Regions from separate parts of the Homo sapiens genome. Here region 2 is linked to region 1. The links are contacts of gene promoters, found by promoter capture Hi-C in human tissues and cell types (Jung and others, 2019). All regions are on one chromosome and are shown on one strand. The core of a region is centred on a gene start or on the middle of the fragment in contact, and the rest is flanking DNA. Distances in the headings are between cores, read along the strand shown. Region 1 holds the start of POLR2C (RNA polymerase II subunit C). Region 2 overlaps RSPRY1 (ring finger and SPRY domain containing 1).

What was found. Contacts are between HindIII fragments. The study calls those that stand out against the background at their distance.
Region 2: a contact is called between a fragment that was not itself captured here and the fragment with the promoter of POLR2C in region 1, in 2 of the 25 tissues and cell types used here (aorta and dorsolateral prefrontal cortex).

What each region holds. Positions count from the first base shown.
Region 1 is chr16:57,461,389-57,466,198 of GRCh38, forward strand. POLR2C (RNA polymerase II subunit C) reads left to right here and starts at 1,291. Exons shown (of 9, transcript NM_032940.3): 1 at 1,291-1,422; 2 at 1,641-1,690; 3 at 4,565-4,633; 4 at 4,787-4,810. The coding sequence starts at 1,337. RefSeq lists an enhancer at 1,149-1,443. The HindIII fragment of the contact is 18,274 bases long and covers 1-4,810 here.
Region 2 is chr16:57,223,318-57,228,127 of GRCh38, forward strand. RSPRY1 (ring finger and SPRY domain containing 1) reads left to right here. Exons shown (of 15, transcript NM_133368.3): 11 at 4,025-4,136. Among named protein-coding and RNA genes, the nearest start is that of ARL2BP, 20 kb to the right of the region's middle. The HindIII fragment of the contact is 5,127 bases long and covers 1-4,810 here.

The DNA.
Region 1 (4,810 bases), core at 41-2,540:
ATAGTGGTAATTATAGTACCTCTGCGTCTCTGGGCTCAAGTCTTCCCATCAGTAAAATACGGGTAACAGAAGCCTTCCCACAGACCATCAGCTCCCTTGGCTGCTCTTGTCTGACGATTTTAGTGGTACATTCTTTAGCCCCAGTAATTTTCTCAGCCTCTACACTGGCTGGGTTCCCTTTGCACGTCTGGTTAGCTCTGTTTTCTGCTTTGCTCTCTTCTGCCTGTCAGCTGAATATTAATGGGGGAAAGTCAGCAACTAATTGAATTTCAGATCTCTTGTGGGTCTTCCACTGGATCTTTTTTGCACCTCTCAATTCCTTGTATCTCTTGACATCCTGTGAAGTTTTCGCAGTAGCTGTTCCAGTTTTCATTGCATTCTCCTTTTTCCTTCATAGCATCCATCTTACACTCAGCAGACAACCATAATTCTTAATTTACCAAGATGACACAGGTTATGGAGCAGGGTTCCATCAGTGCCCACCCTCTGTTTCAGGAAGAGGTGTCACTCTTTGCAAAGGCAAACTCCTCTTTATCTGGTTACTCTTCTCCCAACTCTTAAATGTATTTCCTGCCACGTTCTATTTTAGAGCTTTTCTCTGTTGGAGCAGCAGCCACTTTTTTTGAGGCCCATTTAAACCTCTCTCCAGTCTGTTTAGGGGACTTCAGTAGTTCTTTGTTGAGCATGCACCCCACATGGTGCCCACTGCCAGGCACTGGGGATGCAGAGACAAAGAGTTCCCACTCACCCACCACAGCTACACAGACTGTAGAGGAAGCATTAGGTTAAAGAACATTGTATCTTTTCCTGAAGTTTTCAGAAGTGCATGGTCCATACTTGAGACTGCAAGGGAAAGGGTATTTACTTATAATTCAGGTATACTTTGCTAAAATATACATTCATATTAAAATATACTTTTGTTTTTCTATAGATGTACAAGTTCTTTTTAAGTGCTTCATAGTATTCCATGTGTGTATACTCCACCAGGTCTCTTATCAATGGACAGTACAAACAGTACTACCACGAACGTCCCTGCACTCGTATCTTTGTTTACAACTGCAAGTGTTTCTGCAGTATGAATTCTTAGAAGTGTTACTGTTAAGTGAAGGACGTATGCGTGTTTTGCCAAACTACCCTCCGAGATAGCTGAATCTGGTACATTTTAAAGCAGGAGGCCGCAGAAGACGCTCGGCAGTTCTGGCCTCCGAGCAGCAGGCGGCGCTGTGAGTCGTCTTTGCGGAAGCCGCGGAGGCCTCGCTGACTGACTTCCGGTGTTGGCGGTGGCGCCGCGCAGTCACCGCGGAGCAGACGCGGAGGCTGGTGGCCCCTGGGCGAGATGCCGTACGCCAACCAGCCTACCGTGCGGATCACGGAGCTCACTGACGAGAATGTCAAGTTCATCATCGAGAACACCGACCTGGCGTAAGGCTACCGAGGGAAGAGGCTGGCGGCTCTGGGGCGCCGGGAGGCCCAAGCCGGGGCCCCGGGGCAGGGGGCGGGGGTGTAGTGGGGTGGGGTGGGGGCGATGTCCTTCCAGAGCTGCCCCCCTGCACCAGGGCTTTAGCTTTGGGAGCCTGCGGCGCGGGCCCAGCCTGTCGAGGCTGCAGCGCCTTCACGCCCCTTGGCTTTTGATCTTTCAGGGTGGCCAATTCGATTCGGAGGGTCTTCATCGCTGAGGTTCCCATAATAGGTAAGCGACTCCCCTTCCTCGTTCCCGCGCCCACGGGTTCCTGCCCCGCTCTCCACCCACACACTCTTTGGGGCTCCTTCCAGTCCTTGGTTCGGGCTGAGGGTGGTAGTGCTGAGAAAAGTGCATTGCTGGAGACTTGACCATACCCTGTGCCCTTGGCTCAGTGGCCGCCTCCCTGGCGCCCACGGGCCACTTAGGTCCACCCTTGTCCTGGGTATGCATTGCTGAGAAGCATGGGTTTAGCAGTGTGCAGACTTGGGTTCAAATACTGTTTTCACTACTATTGTTACAAAAGTTTTTAAAATGTTTTCAACTTTTATTTTGGAGTCAAGGGGTACATTGGTGCAGGTTTGTTGCCTGGGTATAGTGCGTGATGCTGAGATTTGGGGTATAAATGATCCTTTCACCCAGGTAGTGAGCATAGTACGCAATAGGTAGTTTTTCACCCCTAGCCCCACTGCCTCCCTTCCAGCTCTAGTAGTCACCAGTGTGTTTATTGTCATCTTTATGTCCGTGCGTACCCAGTTTTAGCTCCCATGCGGTGTTTGGTTTTCTGTTCCTGTGTTAATTCTCTTAGGATAATGGCTTCCAGGCCGCGCTCGCGCCTGTAATTCCAGCACTTTGGGAGGCCAAGACTGAGGAACACCTGAGGCCAGGAGTTTGAGACCAGCCTGGCCAACATGGGGAAAGCCCGCCTCTACTAAAAATGCAAAAATTAGCCAGGTGTGGTGGCTCCCACCTGTAATCCCAGCTACTGGGGAGGCTGAGGCAGAATTGATTGAACCCAGAAGGTGGAGGTTGCAGTGAGCCGAGATCATGCCACTGCACTCTGGCCTGGGCAATAGAGTGAGACTCCTTCTCAAACAAAAGAAAATAAAAAAGAAGATAGTGGCTTCCAGCCACGTCCATGTTGCTGCAGAGGACATGATTTCGTTCGTTCTTATGGCTGCATCACTTACTGCTTTTGTGAAACTTGGGCAAGTTATTAAACTTCTGTGTGCTGCAGTTTCCTCATCTGTAACATTCGGCCACTAATGATCCTTATCAGGGTAATGTTAAGGATTAAGTGAGGTAATCCATATAAGTGCTTTGTGTTTAGTGAGTGCTCAGTGCTGGTAGATGGCTTTTTTATTAATCTATTCCTTCAACAGCATTTATGGAGCATGAAAGTGGCAGGCATGGTGGTAAGCTCTGGGAATGCAAAGCTGTAGAGAACAGGGTTTTTGCCCTCATGGAGTCCACAGTGAGGTTGTAGGGGAGAGATGAATCCACAGACAACACTAAAGCAAGGTAGATTTTGATCAGTAGTTCAGGAGAAGCATAGCTGTGGTGCACTTGGCTCTTAGAGGAGGGAAGATCAATTTCTGGTCTGGTTCCAGCCACTCTGCTCCAGGTGCTTAATGCATTGATTATACTTGTATGAAATACTTCAAGCATTTCTGAGAGTCAGCTCAGAGAGTTTGGATTAGGCAAAATAAATATAAGTCATAGCTGTGGCATCAAATATTCAGACTTTTAAGGAAATAAGCAGGCCAAATGATTAGGCAAGAGAACATTGTAGTTTATCCACTACCACCACCACCCCACCCCCCCGCCCCCCAGTCACTTCTTAAATTCAGCTTGGAGTGCTGGACCTCCCCCTGCCTAAGCACTTCATGCCTCTGGACCTCAGTTTCATCAGGAGTCAGGTGAGGGAGTTGTACTTCATGATGCAGCCCTGCCATTCTGAGTCTAAATGCCTCTTTCCCAACAAATTCAGTTCTACAAATAATATTGAGCACCCATGCTAGGAATACAAAGACATCCCAGGACCTGCGTGAAGGAATTTCTGAAGCTTGAGGTATAGACATAACATACACAAATATGACACAAGGCACACTATGACAAGTGTCTTGAGGGAAGTCTGAACAGAGTTTTGTGAGAGAGGAGTTGAAAGGGAGGGAATGTCACATCTGTAGCATAGAGAGCAGGCAAGGCTTAGTTTTCAGGAGGCACAGAGGATCTTAACCTGTACAGCAAGGAGGGGAAGGGTGTGCTGGAGGGAAGGGCTGGGGGATTAAAGAGGCAGAAAAGCTTGGGTCAGGGTTCTCTCAGTTGGCTTGGACTGGGGAAGCAATGGGAAGCATAGCAGGACAGAGCAGGTGGAGGCCTGGCAGGGGGAGGTCCTCTTCCGACCGCTGTTCCTAGTGTCTGTGTCCCTCGTTTGGCAGTTGGGCTCCAGTGCCATTTGATTCCTGGATTTAGTTGGTTCCATGCAAATGTTTATGAATGAATAAATGTGTGTTTAAGTCAAGCATGTGTGATCGATAATACAGTCTTTACCCTCCTACGAGCTCATTGCTGCTAGGGATTGGGTTCTATATTTAGTATACTTTGCGCATTAAAAGAATTCAGTAAACATTTGTTGATTGAGTGTTTAAAAAGTGCTAAGTTGGGCAGTCCAGTCATTATATCCTAAAATGAGGTATGGCCCCATAAGTCTGTGTTGCTTCTGTGAGGGTTTCCCTGACTTTGAAGTGCTCAAATAGTTCATGTTCTTGGATTTAGTGGTGGCACAGGTAGCAGATTTAAGTGCTTCTCATGCAAATACTCAGCTCAAATAAACATGTTTCCACTTCTATGATATTCTATAAGTCAGTGTTTTCTGTGAAGCAGGGAGCCCCCTGCATTAAATTCACCTGGGCAGGGAGGTGAGGTGTGGTGTGTGTGGGTCTTATTAAAATGCAAGTACCTGGGCCCCACTCTAATGCTGTGGAATCAGCCCAGCAATCTGCAGTTTAGTGTCAGGTGATTCCTAAATCTTGAGAACCACTGCATTAAGTCTGTAGGTAAATTTGATGGCTAAACTCCATGTCTGCTTCTTTCATTTTTTAGCCATTGACTGGGTTCAGATTGATGCCAATTCCTCAGTTCTTCATGATGAATTCATTGCTCACAGGCTTGGTGAGTACTCCTTTTACTAGGAGGTTAAAGGGAGGGTATTGTGCCTAGTGTCAGGAGGGGGCCTCCTTCCAGCCTCACCCCCAGAAGGCTTCTGGGTTCTCATTTTGGCTTGGCTGTTTGGTTTTCTTTAAAGTGCTTTTCTGTTTTTTACAGGATTAATTCCCCTCATTAGTGATG
Region 2 (4,810 bases), core at 1,082-3,581, 240 kb before region 1:
CATTTTAAAAGGCTGGCCACTGGGCTCAATGTTAGGTCATTAAAATAAGCTTAAGGATAGTTCTGTTCAGGTAACCTACAGAACAGTTTGTCTTGTTGTATTGTATATTTTTATGGAGGCTTAGGAGGAGCAACTCTCCAAGGGTGTACTCTGATTTATCTAAAATATCTTTTGCCTTTTGGCCAGGCGCAGTGGCTCACACCTGTAATCCCAGCACTTTGGGAGGCTGAGGTGGGTGGATCACTTAAGGTCAGGAGTTTGACTGGCCAACATGGTGAAACCCCGTCTCTACTGAATATAAAAAATTAGCTGGGCGTGGTGGCGGGCGCCTGTAATCCCAGCTACTCGGGAGGCTGAGGCAGGAGAATTGCTGGAATATGGGAGGCAGAGGTTGCACTGAGCCCAGATAGTGCCACTGCACTCTAGCCTGGGCGATAGAGTGAGACTCTGTCTCAAAAATAAATAAATAAATAAATATCTTTTGCTTTTTTGTGAGTGTCTGTCATGTGACACTTTTGTGAGGTCTTTCACATATTTATCTTTAATCTTTTTGAGAGTTTGGAAAGGTATTATCCTGCCATTTAAAGATGAGGAAAATCAAGTTGAGAGAAATTAAGAAACTTCCCCAAAGCCATGTAGTCTCCAGCTGCTAGAGATTTCAGGCCAGGATAGCCCATGCTCCTTCCCCTGTTGAAGCATCTGCCTTCGAGAAAATGACTCTGGCTATCTCAGACAGAAAAGGAATGATTTAGAAGCCTTTCCGGAGCCTCCAGATTATGGAGAAGTTTTGGAACTAGACAGGCTCCAAGGCTGTCAGGGCCAAGAAACAGGAAGTACAATAGCCGGTGTTTTAGGGAAACGATCTGGCCAGCATGCAGCCACCATTGCTGCTGGAAATCCATCCTAACTATCCCTCTGTTTGGGGTCACTTGCACCATACTGAGTGTTTGATGGGAAGGTCCAGCTGGCCAAGCCTAGGTCATATCTTACCTTTCCACTTCCAAAGGAGGAGGCAGAACACTGTCTTCATACATTTCCCTTAACAGGAAACGGTTGGGATGCCCTACAGCAGGAAAAAGGAGAGTGTCCACCACGTGGGAAAGAGACTCAAACTATTCCCTGAATGACAAGCTGTGGATAAACTTTCTTTTGTTTGTATTTGGTAATGTTTCCATTGCTAAAATATGCATGACCAAAAAACAGGTAGTTCAAGATAAATACCAAGCTAACCACTCTATTCTCTCATTTATCTGTCCTAGCCAATGGAAACCAAAATTAATCCTGCTGGGAACATTTTGAGCTGAGAGAGGGTGTAGGACATCTAGGTTGTTCTCTGAGATGTAAGCTTAAGAGATTTTTAAAGTGCATCTCTGCTAGGCAGAGGCATCTTCTCCTTAAATCTGTAGATGCTGCTCTGTAGTTAAAGTTATTAGAGTTCCTTCTTTGTGCTACAGTGCCACTCTGTTGTGGAACTTATCCAGTCATCAAAGACATTGCATGGTAAAGAATGTGTAATGAGTCTGCTCTTTACCAACTCATGGTGGCTAGCTTCTAGGAATTTCTTTCAAGTGTTCTGTCAAGGACTTCTCAGGACATTAGAAGGTGAAGATAGAAAAGAATTGCTTGCCTTTTACTTATGCCACAATGCCTACATTTTAGTGGTTTTTAAGTTTTTTACTTACTGACTTGTTCAGCGTTTGAAAGGTGTGGCAAGGCATTCTTTCTAGCAAGTAGTGAATTTCTTTTGTTTTGTTTTGTTTTGAGACAGTCTCGCTCTGTCACCCAGGCCAGGGTGCAGTGGCACGTGATCTCTGCTCACTGCAACCTCTGCCTCCCAGGTTCAGGCGATTCTTGTGCCTCAGCCACCAGAGTAACTGGGATTATAGGTGTGCGCCACCACACCTGGATAATTTTTGTATTTTTAGTAGAGACAGGGTTTCGCCATGTTGGCCAGGCTGGTCTCAAATGCCTGGCCTCAAGTGATCTGCCCCCCAAAGTGCTGAAATTACAGGCATGAGCCACTGCTCTTGGCAGCCTTGGGTGGTGAATTTCTAAGGCAATTAGATGCAAGCTCATTTAACTCTTGAGTAGTCTGAATAGTGAATATCAATAGCTATTTCAGAAGAGTCACTTTGGAGAGCGTTCCTCCAAATTCAGTATGTTGTAATCCAAAAATCCAGTACAAAATCATTGTTGCATTCATCAGAACTTTTTTTCCAATCTCTCTCCTCACTGTATTGTTTGCCCCATAGAAGAAGCAGGCCATCAGGACCTGATCTTACTTGGATTTGGCCATTTTCAATTTCTTTCTCTAGTAAAACTTTTCACCATTGTTCCTTAAAGATAGCAGTTGTCTGATTTGCATGCTGCTTCTATTTTTTATAAGCACTCAAAATAATTTCTTAAGATCTCAGCCACCCTTTTATTTTAACAGTTCTGTGAAATAATTGAAAGGCAGTAAGTAACAAAAAGAAGAAACTGCCAGGCGCGGTGGCTCACGCCTGTAATCCCAGCACTTTGGGAGGCCGAGGCGGGCAGATCACCTGAGGTCTAGAGTTCGAGACCAGCCTGACCAACATGGAGAAACCCCGTCCCTACTAAAAATACAAAATTAGCTGGGCCTGGTGGCGCATGCCTATAATCCCAGCTACTCAGGAGGCTGAGGCAGGAGAATCGCTTAAACCCGGGAGGCAGAGGTTGTGGTGAGCCAAGATCGCGCCATTGCACTCCAGCCTAGGCAACAAGAGTGAAACTCCATCTCAAAGAAAAAAAAAGAAGAAACTGCCAAGGACCTGTACAATCCTCAAATCAAGCTGATTTCAGAATAGCTTTTAGCTGAGTGTCCACTATAACCTTTCTCTTATCTCCAGTTTTGAAATCTCTGAATATTTGGGTATTTTGAAGTCTGCTACATGCAAGAAAGGTATTTGCCTGATCTGATCTTGTTACTGGAAAGGGTCTGGATCCAGATCCCAAGAGAGGGTTTTTGGACCTCGCGCAAGAAAGAATTTGGGGCGAATCCATAGAATAAAGTGTTTTCACAAGTTTATTAAAGAAACAGAAGAATGGCTACTCTATAGGCAGAGCAGTGGCGTGGGCTGCTCAACTGAGTATACTTAGTTATTTCTCGATTATATGCTAAACAGGGATGGATTATTCATGAGTTTTCTGGGAAAGGGACAGGCAATTCCTGGAACCAAGGGTTCCTCTCCTTTTTAGACTATATAGGGTAACTTCCAAACTGCCATGACATTGTAAAGTGTCATGGCACCTGTTAGAGTGTCTTTTAGCATGCTAATGCATTATAATTAGCATATAATGAACAGTGAAGATGACCAGAGGTCACTTTTGTTGCCATCTTGGTTTTGGTGGGTTTTGGCCAGCTTCTGGCTGGCTTCTTTATTGCATCCTGTTTTATCAGCAGGGTCTTTGTGACCTGTATCTTGTGCTGACCTCCTGTCTCATCCTGTGACTAAGAATGCCTAACCTCTTGGGAATGCAGCTGAGCAGCCCAGCAAGTCTAAGCCTCATTTTACCCTGCCCCTATTCAAGATGGAGTCTCTCTGGTTTGAATGCCTCTGACAATCTTGTGCTGATATACAAGTGTACTGACTGATCTTGGAATCAGAAGAATTTAGGTTCAAACCTGGCTCTGTTTCTTGGGCAAGTAATATATGCTTGGGCAAGCTGGTTGACCTCTTTGAGCCTTTGTTTCCTCTTAAAATGGAGTCTGATGCCACCAGCCTCATGATAATGTTAGTGAGAATTAAATGAACTAACAAATGTGAAAGTGCCTGAACAAAGGAGGCACTGGGAAAATATTTGTTGGTGAAGTCATTATCTATTCACTTGGAACCAGCCCTCTAAGTCATAATTTTAGTATTTTCAAAAAACCATGAGCTCTCTCATCATCCAGAAAGCTTAGAATCCCAGCCATTAGGTCAGTGGTCGTAAAAGACACACTCTCTGTTCCCAGGTCAGAGCAGGCAGACTTGCTAATCTTCTGGGCCTTGTCTCTCTCCAGGAAGGCTACGGCATTGGGGATGATGAATACTCCTGTGCGTATGATGGCTGCCGGCAGCTGATTTGGTACAATGCCAGAAGTAAGCCTCACATACACCCATGCTGGAAAGAAGGTATTCATTCCCTCCATTATAAATTTATCAAGTGGGTTAAGACATCTGGTTATTATGAGGCATTTATTACATTAAGCCTTAAAATGTCTTAGGAGAAGATCAAATGTGAAAAGGGATATTAACTTTTGTGTCACTGCCAAGGATATAAATGGTATTCCTCTGATAAATTTACCTCTGGTGGAGTTCTTCCTGTAGCAAAAACATTTCAGAAAATAAATTTTTTACATTTGTCAGAAAATGATACTCAAGATTAGTATGAATTCTATTTTCCTCTTTGGATCTGTTTTGAATTAAAGCAGCCATGGCAATATCAGGGACACTGGAATTGTAATGCCACTAAAATGAGGATTTTTCAGGGACAAGATGGCTATGGAACAGGTCCTATCCAGTGGCCACGCTCTAAGGAAGTAGGGTCATATGGTAGAGGATATAACCTCTGGAAGGATTTGATTCCTAGCATCAGAGCTAGATAGAGGATATAACCCAACTCTTTCTCCAAGCATCCCTCTCTCATTTTGCTACCCCAATCAGCATTATGGATATAAACTGAATTTTTAGGCATGCTAAGAAAGCAGAAATTTAGGCTGAGGCAGGTGGATTGCTTGAAGTCAGGAGTTCAAGACCAGCCTGGCCAACATGGTGAAACCTCATCTCTACTAAAATACAAAAATTAA